Linked DNA regions of Homo sapiens: region 1 is linked to region 2. The links are contacts of gene promoters, found by promoter capture Hi-C in blood cells and fetal thymus (Javierre and others, 2016). All regions are on one chromosome and are shown on one strand. The core of a region is centred on a gene start or on the middle of the fragment in contact, and the rest is flanking DNA. Distances in the headings are between cores, read along the strand shown. Region 1 overlaps MPRIP (myosin phosphatase Rho interacting protein). Region 2 holds the start of NT5M (5',3'-nucleotidase, mitochondrial).

Region 1 (5,596 bases), core at 581-3,080, 180 kb after region 2:
CACACTGGGGCCTTTCAGAGTGGGGAGGGTGGGAAGAGGGAGAAGATCAGGAAAAGTAACTAATGGGCATTAGGCTTAATATCTGGGTGATGAAATAACCTGTACAACAAACTTCCATGACACAACTTTACCTATGTGACAAACCTGCACTTGCACCCCTGAACTTAAAAAAAGAAAAAGAAAAAGAAAATAGCTCCCTCCAAGTCTCAGTAGTGCAGTGTTCCCCCTTCCCCTGCTGCCGATGGGGAAGCAGCAACAACAGCACCAGCACAGGCGCAGGGCACAATGGTGCTCATGTTTGCGCCCATGCCCTTGAATACCACGCACTGCTGCAAACTCTTCCCGTGTCCTCTCACTGAACATTCCGAACACACTATGAGGCAGGCACTACTGTCACTCTCATCCCGCAGACAAGGAAGCAGACTGCTAAGAAGCTAGGTGCAGTCATGCACCGCACAACGATGTTAGTCAACAGCTCCCTCTATGTTTTGCTAGGTTTGGATACATCAATACTTGCCACTGTGTTATAACTGCTTGTGATATTGCAGTATATGCTGTACAGGTTTATGGCTTCGCAGCAATAGGCTCTACCACAAAGCCTAGGTGTGCAATAAGCTGTACTGTCTAACTTTGTGTAAGTGCACTCTAGAATATTTACACAAGGACCAAACTGCCTGAGAAAACACATTTCTCAGGATGTGTGCCTGTCATTAAACAACGCAGAACTGTAATTTTGATTTAAGGTCACAATGCTAGGAAGTAGCCATGTCAGGATTCAAACCCAGGCACTCTGGTTCCAGAGCTGGTCCCCCTGCTGCTCTGCACTCAGCAGCATTTCCAGACTGAACAGACTCAACCAATGGCTCCAGGGAGCCCCTCAGCCAGCACCTCTCCCCTCCCCTGCCTCTGCCTAGGGGGCAGGATACAACCATCTGTGTCTGGGTAGGCCTGAATCTTGTGCTGCGAGAGTAAGGGCAAATATCTAGGCTGTAACCCAAATCCAGCCAGAAGGAACGCCTCAGCTCTAACGCTGTCAGCAAAGCAACTCTGATGAGCTTCCTGCCCTAATTCTATACCTCCAGAGGTCAGGAATCCAGGTTTCCTAGGAGGCTGAGCTTCACCTAGTTTTGTTTGATTCATTTTCCAAAAAAAGAGACGGCCCTCTGTAGGCCATCGACTCTGCTATGTCACCAAGTTATGGGTTCAGCCCCCACATAGCCCTCCAGCTATCTGGAGCCTCTGGTCCTCTTCTGGGCTCCACCCTACCCCAGCTAAGGGGCAGAGTTGCTACAGGCTGCAGATTGTTTAGGCAGGAGGACACAGGACTCAGGCTTCTCTCCAAAGAGATGAGCACACCCTGCTCCTCCTGCCGGTCCTCTGTCCACAGGCCCATGGGAGGCTGGAAGCTCTGTGCACTGCAGCCAGGGCATCTTGTCAGAGGCCAGAGTGACCTTCCTGGGTTAGGATAATACTGCTATAGCAGCCTCTCCAACCGGGGACTCTCCACCACACCCCTGGCCCAAGCAGAAGCACTTTTGGGAAAACAGGCCTTTGTTTCTTGTTGACCCCATGAGTGTGGGAAGGCAAGCTTCTAAGAGCCAGAGGGAAACAAGAGGAAAGTAAGCAGAAATATGGTGAGAGGCTGTTTGGCGTTATCATCAGGAGGACCTTCCTTCCAGGCAGCTGCTGTTACAGAACCAGTCGCACGTGAGACCTGGGTGGGAGTCTTCCCTTTATCCCCCAATCCCTCATTCAGACCAGAAAACAGAGACCCAAGAAACAAAGGCTTTCCCCTAGGGCAAAGAATTACTCCCAAAATCTCAAGGTCAGAAAGGGGATTTCAAGGTGAAACCTGACTTCCCCCCACACCTGAGGTCCTGAGACAGCATGTTTCACAAACTCATCCAACCAAGGCCCACATGGAACACCACATTCACACCATGATGAGCACACACACAAGTGCACACATGCACATGAAATGGAAAACGGTGAGTCAGTATTTCTACCATGTGCACTGTATTTATTATTTTTTCATATGCACTGTGACCCACTTAAGGAGTATGAAAAGCTTTGTCTGCAAACTTTGGGGCTGAGCGGTCGCCTTGCTCATCTGCACTCTGGCAGGGACAGGCAGCTCGGCACGTTCTAGGGAGGACACAGGGAATTGCCTTGCAGTAGAAGCAGGAAGTGTATTCACCACTTCCTGGGTGCTCACTGTGGCCAGGCCCTGAGTAGCTACAGGTACTGATGACAGCTTCAGGAGGCAGGCACATCATTGTTCTGACTTTCAAATGTACAAGCTGGGGCTCCAAGTGATTATGGGACGTGGCACTCTGTGGGCCACCCAGAACAAGTGTGGTCCTCTCTGACTGGCACCCTTGCCCCTCTCTCCTTGGCATCTTTCCTCCCTGGACTTAACAATTGTTTGCACAAGGTCATGCCTAAGTTTATCAGAGAAACTGTAGGCAGGGCTACCCAGCCTGGACCACGTGGAGACTTGCCCAGCACGGCCCCTGCCTTCAGCCTGGCACTTCACTGAGCTATGGCCTGATTAGGCAGCGCCCAGGCAGGAACACCACCTCCCTCCTCCCTTGGGCTGGTGGGCTGTGCTGCAGACATGGTCTGGCTGCTCGAGCCAGGTCTAAGGAGAGGTCCTTCCTTTCTTTGGAATTCAGGACATTGGCTCCAGAGTTTTCTCAGGAAGGAACACAGCCCTTGGGGAGCACCAGCTGAGTTCCTAGGCGCCCCTGGAACCCACATCCTGGGAGGCACAACACAGGAGCAGGGCTCATGGGGGCTGTGTGGCTGGCTCAGGTCAAAGGTGGTCTCCCGGCTCTTCTTGCTGCAGCCAAACTGCTTCTAGGAGCCCGATCTAACAAATCACAAGCCCCTCTCTTTTGAGGAGGTGCTGGTGACTACCCCAAAGGCCATCAAGTGTAGAAAGGGCACTTAACTCTTGGCCCAAAGTCCCTCTGGGGCTGCAGACCTCCCCAGGGAGCAGCACTCTCCACAGACAGATATCCCCAAAGCCCAAGTCCTCTGAGGAAACTGGAAAGAGCCGCAGAAAAGGGGTCATGATCCCATGCAGGCCCAGAGTAAGCAAAGCCTCTGCCTGGCCTCTGTGCCACAACTCAGAGAAGTGTTAGGCCAACCACGCCTAGGGACTGACAATGGGCCTAGCAGGTACCCACCAGGCAGAACTCCCTTCCCCCTTCCCAGTCGTCACCGCCAGTCCTGGTGTACTCCACAGTCCTCATGGTTCAAAGGGCAGTTCCACAATCATCCTCCACACTGTAGCCTCCTGAAGCTGCATGGAACAGCCCCTAGGCTGGGCTGAGCCCTCATCCCAATGCCTGTCCTCAGGTGTCAGGTCTGATTCCAGGTCCTATCACCTCCTTGGGAAGGGAGCCATGATTCTGCACTCTTCCCCACCCTTCAGGTGTCCCACATGAAACCTGCATGCTACAACCTGGCAGACCCCAGAGAGGGTCCTGCAACCCCAGAGGGACTTTGGGCCAAGAGTTGGATGCCCATTCTACACCCGATGGCTTTTGGGGTGGTCCCCAGCACATCCTCAAAAGAGAGGCTTGTGATTTGTTAGATCAGGCTCCTAGAAGTAGTTTGGCTGCAGAAAGAAGGGCCGGGAGACCACCCCATGACCTGGGCTAGCCACACAGCCCCCGTGAGACTCCCAGGACCTTAGGCAGCTTTGGCCAGCCAGGGCTACCTAGGCTGGACCTACAGCACAGGCCAGGGAGACCAGCTCATGGGGCTTCCATCAGCCCAGGACAGGAGGAAGAGCTGGAGCCACAAACCACTGCTCTCCCAGCTGTTTCCCTCTGCAGAAGTTCTGAGATCTAAGGTAGACTCTAAGCAATCTGTTTTCAGAGCTCTCTAGCCAAGAAGAGCCTACCCTTGGAGTCAAGTCCTAGCTCTGCACTCACTAGCTCTGTGATTCTGGGCAAGTCGCAAATTGTGAGCCTCAGTTTCCCTAATGTAAAATGGTAGTAAATATAGGCCTCGTTTTGATTGTAAAGTGGTGTAGCTATTGTGGAAAACTTTAGCAGTTCCTCAAAAAATTACAGACAGTTTCCATATGACCCAACAAGTTGATTACTGGATATATACCCAAAAGAACAGAAGACAGGTACTCGAACATATACACAAATCATATCGTAGCAGCATAATTCGCGATAGCCAAAAGGTGGAAACAGCCCAAATGTCCATCAGTGGACAAATGGATAGACAAAATGCAATATTCATACAATGGAATATTATTTTATTCAGCCATAAAAAGAATGAAATCCTGACACATGCTCCAACATGAGCAAACCTTGGAAACATCACGCTAAGTGAATGAAGCCAGTCACAAAAGGACACACACTGTGTGACTCCATCTTGGTGAAATGTTCAGAAAAGGCCAACCCATAGAGAAAAAGCAGAGGAGTGGTTGCCAGGGGCTAGGGGAGGGGAATGAGAAGTGGCCTAATGTTTTGGCCTAGAGATTTCCCTTTGGGGTGATAATCTACCCCCTTCTGTCACAAGACTACAAACGATACTGCACAGCTGAAGCGGGACTCGAGCTCAGGCTCGGGATGGCACACCCGTGCCGCCTGCTGCTTCTCAGTGCACATCACCACTCTCCTACCAAGCAAGGGTGGTGGTCAGAAGACGATGGGTTCAACAACTTTCCTCGAATGTTTGGGAAGGAGGGAGGACAGTGTCGGGCATGTTCCGTCTTCTACCCTGTGGCAGAGAGGCAGGGCTCAGTGGACTGAGGAGCTCTGGGCATCATGGGCCACCGTCTTCTGCAAGGGGAGGGGGCACATCCTCTACTCAGAGACCATGGCCATCTACTTGTGCTAAGATGGCTGATAAGGGCTCTTGAAAACAATGGACCAAGCCGAAGGGTCAATCCAAAGGCAGCTGAGTACCGTGCAGATTCTCCCTGTGCCTCTCTGGCCCTTGCCTTGGGGCCCTGGGGAGCACCAGAGGCTGGTTTCCCAGGCCACATTCCAGGGGAGAGCAGGGTCTGCCCCTCTGCTGAGCCCCAGGCTGACAGCACCTGGCCCCAGACACTACCTGCAAAACATTTCTGACCCCTCTCCCCAGCTGCAGATGCATGCGGGGCAGGCCCTTTCCCACTGCCCACCAATACAGACTGGGGACTGGCAGGACGGAGGCCTCAGACCTGTGATTCTGGGAGTTCCGTGGGAGGCTTGGCTAGATGAGGCCAGCTGGGAACACCTGGTACACAGTGAAGAGGCCCATGGGTTCTACCCTCCTAGGCACAGCAGTGCTGGGAGCCTCAGAATGATTCAACAGGAACAGCCCCAGAACCATTCTTCATGAACATAGATCCGGCCAAGCCAACCCACAACTCAACTGCTCCAACAGCTCCCAGCCCAAGCTCTGCTCCCTGCACCAATTGCCCCACCTTGCCTCCTGGACCTACTTGCTGGCCTGGGAGACCCACGGTTACCCGCTGCACAGAGCAGCCTCCTTTATCACTGTCCTGCCGGAGAGGCCTGCCTGGCACATCTCCCCTCCTGGATCATTGTCCTGTGCTCCCTGAAGGGAGCCCCTGTGCAGAGGC
Region 2 (5,170 bases), core at 553-3,052:
TTCGGAGTTGGGGGTGGGCTTGGTTTCCACGTTAATACACTCCCGGGCGGATATATGGTGTCCAGACTCCCCATGCCGAGCGCTGCCTATAAATGAACACTCGCCACACACTGGAGCCTATTCCTGAGGCTGCAGAAAGTACCAGGGCATTTTCTCCAGTTTAAAGTTTATCATTAGGCATCCGCTGTAGAAGAGCTCAGCACACTGGGCTCTGTGAAAGTCACCTTCTGAAGTGCCTGGTGTTGATGGAGACAAACGGTACTTGGTTTCCTTTTTTAACACCTGTCCCTCAACAAACCACATTACTGATGAGGCATCTTTCTGATGTCAGAAGAAATGTCACTTGTTAGAGACAGTAGTACAGAGAACAGGACTGTGGAGTGGGGAGCACTAACTGTGCTTGGGAGGCAGACAGACTTGGGTTTGAGTCCTGACTGAGCCCCTGAGCAGCATGTGACTTGGGGCAAGTTTCCTCATCTGGAAAACAGAGATAATAATATCTACCCAACAAAAGAGAGGATGCAGTGAACTTGTGGCTAAAAAACGGGCTCTTGTAACTTCCTTCTCCTCTTTATCAAACCCTCCAGCAGCAACCCTAGGTGGCCAATCAAGGGATGCCAAAAAACACTCAGCCTCTTTAATTTTGTGCATACCAAAATCCCCTGTTCCTTTTGCAAAATACTTCAAATTTACCAACCAAGATCTGTGTGTAAACGTCCCTCCTTGGATCTTTCCCCTCTATCCATCCTGGACAGAACACCTCGGGAGTCGGATGGTAGGGGTTGAGCTCAGGTGTTCAGCAAGGCCAGCTCTGCAAGGGGATAAGACATGAGGTGGATCCCACCTCACCTGGACCACTGACTCACTGTGTGACCCCCAGAAAGTCACACAACCTCTCTGGGCCTCAAATACCCCTGGAAGCTATGCTTTCATGGACAACAGTAAAAAAGATGGGTAAAGACACCCATCAAAGTCCTGGGGACAAAGAAGTGGGAATGTGACTGCGGTCGGGGTGAAAGAGGACAACTTATAACGTTTATTTTTCTAAAAATTTAACAAACGACTTGAGGCCAAATATGCCACAAATTTTGAAGTCAGCTTTAAATGCAGAGTTAGGTATATTAACACTTTGTACTCTCCCGCATTTTCAGAAACCTTGGATGGCAGCCAACAGATCCTGAGCGCGGGGCCGCATCTTCCCGGTGCGCTGTGGCCCCTAGTCCCCCCCAGACCCTATTCTATCAGAGGGCCACCCCGAGGCTGGGGCGCTGACCGTCCAAGGTCACCGGCGCAGGGGCGGTGTCTGGGGCTCGGGGCGAGAAGGAGGCCCGGCGCGGGGCGGGGCGGGGACGCTCACGCTCAGCCCTGGCCGCAGGCGGCCGTACTGCTCCGACACCCAGAAGCCGCGCCGGTCCTCCAGCGCGATGAAGGGCTGGTCGGGAAAGCGCGCGCGGAACTTCCTGAGGAATCCGCCCTCGAAGTCAGCCAGCACGCCGTCCATGTCCACCAGCACCCGTAGGGCGCGGCCTCCCGCCAGGCCCAGCCCGCCCGCCGCCCCGCGCCGCCCCGCGGGAACCGCCGCGCTGCAGAGCCGCCGCGCACACCAGCCGCCCAGCCGGATCATGGCCCAGCGCGCTGGCCCGTCGTGGGCGCGGGGACCTGGGCCGCGCCGTGCTGCCGGAGCCGGCCAGACATTCCCGCCGCGGAGGAGAAGCCCCCAACGCTGGGGCGCGCGTGGAGCGCGGGACGGGGAGCGGGGCGGGGAGCGCGGGGTGCGGGCGCGCAAGTACCGGCCCCAGAGCGAGGCCGCGGCGCGCGCGGTCCCTAAAGGAACACGCGCCGGCGGAGGCGGAGCCCCGGGGCGGGGCTTCGAGGACGGACAGCGGTAAGCGCCGCGCGCCTCCAGAAGGTCCGCGCTCCCGCGCTGTCGATTTGCGTCTTCTCCGTGGACCCTGGGCCCGGGCTGCCTTCTCCCACTGCACAGACTACCATGGAGGAGCAGTGCAAACCGAGAAGCAGGCCTGTGTCGTTAGACATTTTTGAGCACTAACTGTGTCGAGTGTGAACCAAATAGACAAAGTTCCTGCCATCCTGGAACTTACGTTTTAGAAGGGGATCCAGACAACAGGATGGAGGAACAAAAACAGGGTGCACTCTGAAAGCCTCTCTGCTTTATTTACAGCAAATGTCTGCGGAGAGACTGATAGAACCAATATCTGCTAACATCATACAGCCTTAGTAAAACTGATGATTCTCAGGTAAATATATGAATAAATATTAAGTACCCCTGTATTGCTTTTTTTTTTTTTTTTTTTTGGAGACGGGGTCTTGCTCTGTTACCCAGGGTGGAAGCAGTGGCATGATCTCGGTTCCCTGCAGCCTTGAGTTTCTGGGCCCAAGGGATCGTCCTGCTTCTGCCTCCTGAGTAGCTGGGACCACAGGGGCCTGCCACCACACCCTGGTAATTTTTTTTTTTTTTTTTTTTTTTTTGAGACAGGAGTCTTCCTATGTTGGGCTCAAACGATCCTCCCACCTCAGCCTCCCAAAGTGCTGGGATTACAGGCGTGAGCCACCGCGCCCGGCCTCTTTTCAACTTTTAAGTACAGGGATACATGTGCAGATTTGTTATATAAATTGACTGTCTTGGGGGTTTAGTGTACAGATTATTATTACCCAGGTAATAAGCGTAGTTCCTGATAGGTAGTTTTTCCATCCTCACCCTCCTCCCACTCTCCACCCTCAAGTAGGTCACCGTGTCTGTTGTCCCCATCATTACGTCCATGTTTACTTAATGTTTAGTTCCCGCTTTTAAGTGAGAGCATGAGGTATTTAATTTTCTGTTCCTGTGTTTGCTTAGGATAATTGTCTCCAGCTCCATCCATATGGCTGCAAAAGACATGATCTTATTCTTTTTTTATGACTGTGAAGTATTCTATGGTATATATGTACCACATTCTCTCCCTTTTTTTTTTTTTTTTCTTGATAGGGAGTCTTGCTCTTGTTGCCCAGGCTGGAGTGCAGTGGCAGGATCTCGGCTCACTGCAACCTCCACCTCCCAGGTTCAAGCGATTCCCCTGCCTCAGCCTCCCAAGTGGCTGGGATTACAGGCGCCCACCACCACACCCAGCTTTTTTGCATTTTTAGTAGAGACAGGGTTTCACTATGTTAGCCAGGCTGATCTCCAACTCCTGACCTTGTGATCTGCCCGCCTCGGCCTCCCAAAGTGCCGGGGTTACAGGTGTGAGCCACCGCACCCGGCCGATTTTTGTATTTTTAGTAGAGACAGGGTTTCACCATGTTGGCCAGGCTGGCCTCAAACTCCTGACCTCAGGTGATCCGCCCCACCCCCCTCGGCCTCCCAAAGTGCTGGGATTAAAGGCGTGAGCCACTGCACCCAGCCTGTGTTACAGCTCTTTTAGCCCCACCATTTGGCAGGTCCCGAGTTCTTGTCCTGCATCCAGGAAGAATGGGGTAGGCAGACAAGTGGAGAGTGAGCAAGACGAAGAGGAGCTTTATTGAGCAACAGAATACTTCAGAAGAGACCTGCAGTGGGCAGCTCCTCTCCATAGCCAGGGTTTCCCCACAAGTGTTCAGCTTTCAGCAGAGAGGGTAGCTCCTCTCTGGTAGGCAGTTCATCCCAACAAGTGTCCAGCTCTCAGCAGAAAGGGTAGTTCCTCTCTGCAGCTGGTTTTCTCCCCATCTACCCGTCCTCTCTTTGAGTCTGGCTGAGTCCAGGGTTTTTTATGGACCTCAGAGGGGAAGAAGTGAGTGCTGATTGGTCCATGGGCGGCCATAGGTGGCCATGAGCAGGCCTGGGGAAAAGCACCACAAGTTCCCCGCTCTGGTACTGGGACTGGTGACCTGGCCCCCAGGCTTCAGGCCCTTCCAGGATTGAAGGTGGGGCTTCACCAGGGACCCGCCCCCTTCCACCGAGGAGCTGTCTGCATTCCTGCTGCTGTTCATGGCGCCCAGGCTGTTCATGCCAAGGGGTACCTGCAGGCCAACACCAGGCTGTCCTCATGCCCCCCTCGGCCGTTCTCCGATGCTTGTTGGCACCCAAGTCCGGAGGGGGCCAAGGAGGCAGGGGGCTGGCGTGTCAGTGCTGCCCTGAGCGTGTGCACTCCCGGCTGGGCTGTGACGGCGCCCTAGCTCGGCCCGACTTTGCTCCGAGATTGAAGCAGGCACCAACAGCAGGGAGAAGCCAGGCAGCAGGAGCAGGCACTTCCGAGCCTGCGAGGGGCAGTGGAGCCTTCACAGGTTCCCAAGAGCACAGAGATGCTGGGCCAGAGCCGCAGCAGGGCAACTGCAGCGGCATCTGGGGAACTCCCGCCCCGCCAACTCAGAAGGGGCGGGGCTCCTGCTGTGCCTTCTATATTGGGTTGCCGTTGCAGTTTTTTAAAAACTCCATCCATCAGGCCGCGCACGGTGGCTCACGCCTGTAATCCCAGGATTTGGGAGGCCGAGGCGGGCGGATCACCTGAGGTCGGGAGTTCGAGACCAGCCTGACCAACATGGAGAAACCCTGTCTCTACTAAAAATACAAAATTACCCGGGCATGGTGGCGCATGCGTGTAATCCCAGCTACTCGGGAGGCTGAGGCAGGAGAATCGCTTGAACCCGGGAGACGGAGGTTGCAGTGAGCAGAGATCGCTCCATTGCACTCGAGCCTGGGCAACAAGAGTGAAACTCCGTCTCAAAAACAAACTCCATCCATCCTATTTCTGTGGATCTATTTCTAGACTCTCCTATTCTGTTCCATTGATCTGTATGTTTCTCCCTTTGCTATTAGCAAACTGTCTTGATTACTTTAGCTTCATAGTAAGTCTTAATATTAGGTATTGTGAGTCCCACAACTTCTTTTTCAAAATTGTTTTAACTATTCTAGTTTCATTGACTTTCCATATAAATTTTAGAATGAGCTTGTCTATATCTACACACACACACACACACACACACACACACACACACACACACACAAAACTTCCTTGGTTTGGTTGGAAGTGCACTAAATCTGTAGATCAATTCGGAGTGACTTGACTTCTTAATTATGTTGACTATTCCAATCCATGAACACAGTATATCCCTCTTTTCTTTGGCTTCTTACACCAATGTTTTGTAGTTTTCAGTATACAGATCCTGCATGTGTTTTGTTGATTTATACCTAAATATT

The links. The method cuts DNA at HindIII sites, captures the fragments that hold promoters and counts their contacts. A CHiCAGO score of 5 or more calls a contact.
Region 1: a fragment that was not itself captured here is called in contact with the fragment with the promoter of NT5M in region 2 in 1 of 17 cell types (activated CD4 T cells); the score reaches 5.1 in activated CD4 T cells.

Annotation. Positions count from the first base shown.
Region 1 is chr17:17,116,247-17,121,842 of GRCh38, reverse strand. All of the region lies in intron 3 of MPRIP (myosin phosphatase Rho interacting protein), which reads right to left. Among named protein-coding and RNA genes, the nearest start is that of MPRIP, 77 kb to the right of the region's middle. RefSeq lists an enhancer at 2,088-2,613. The HindIII fragment of the contact is 480 bases long and covers 1,591-2,070 here.
Region 2 is chr17:17,300,005-17,305,174 of GRCh38, reverse strand. NT5M (5',3'-nucleotidase, mitochondrial) reads right to left here and starts at 1,802. Exons shown (of 5, transcript NM_020201.4): 1 at 1,358-1,802. The coding sequence starts at 1,624. RefSeq lists silencers at 1,233-1,422, 1,553-1,652, 1,703-1,872 and an enhancer at 3,846-4,421. The HindIII fragment of the contact is 19,177 bases long and covers 1-5,170 here.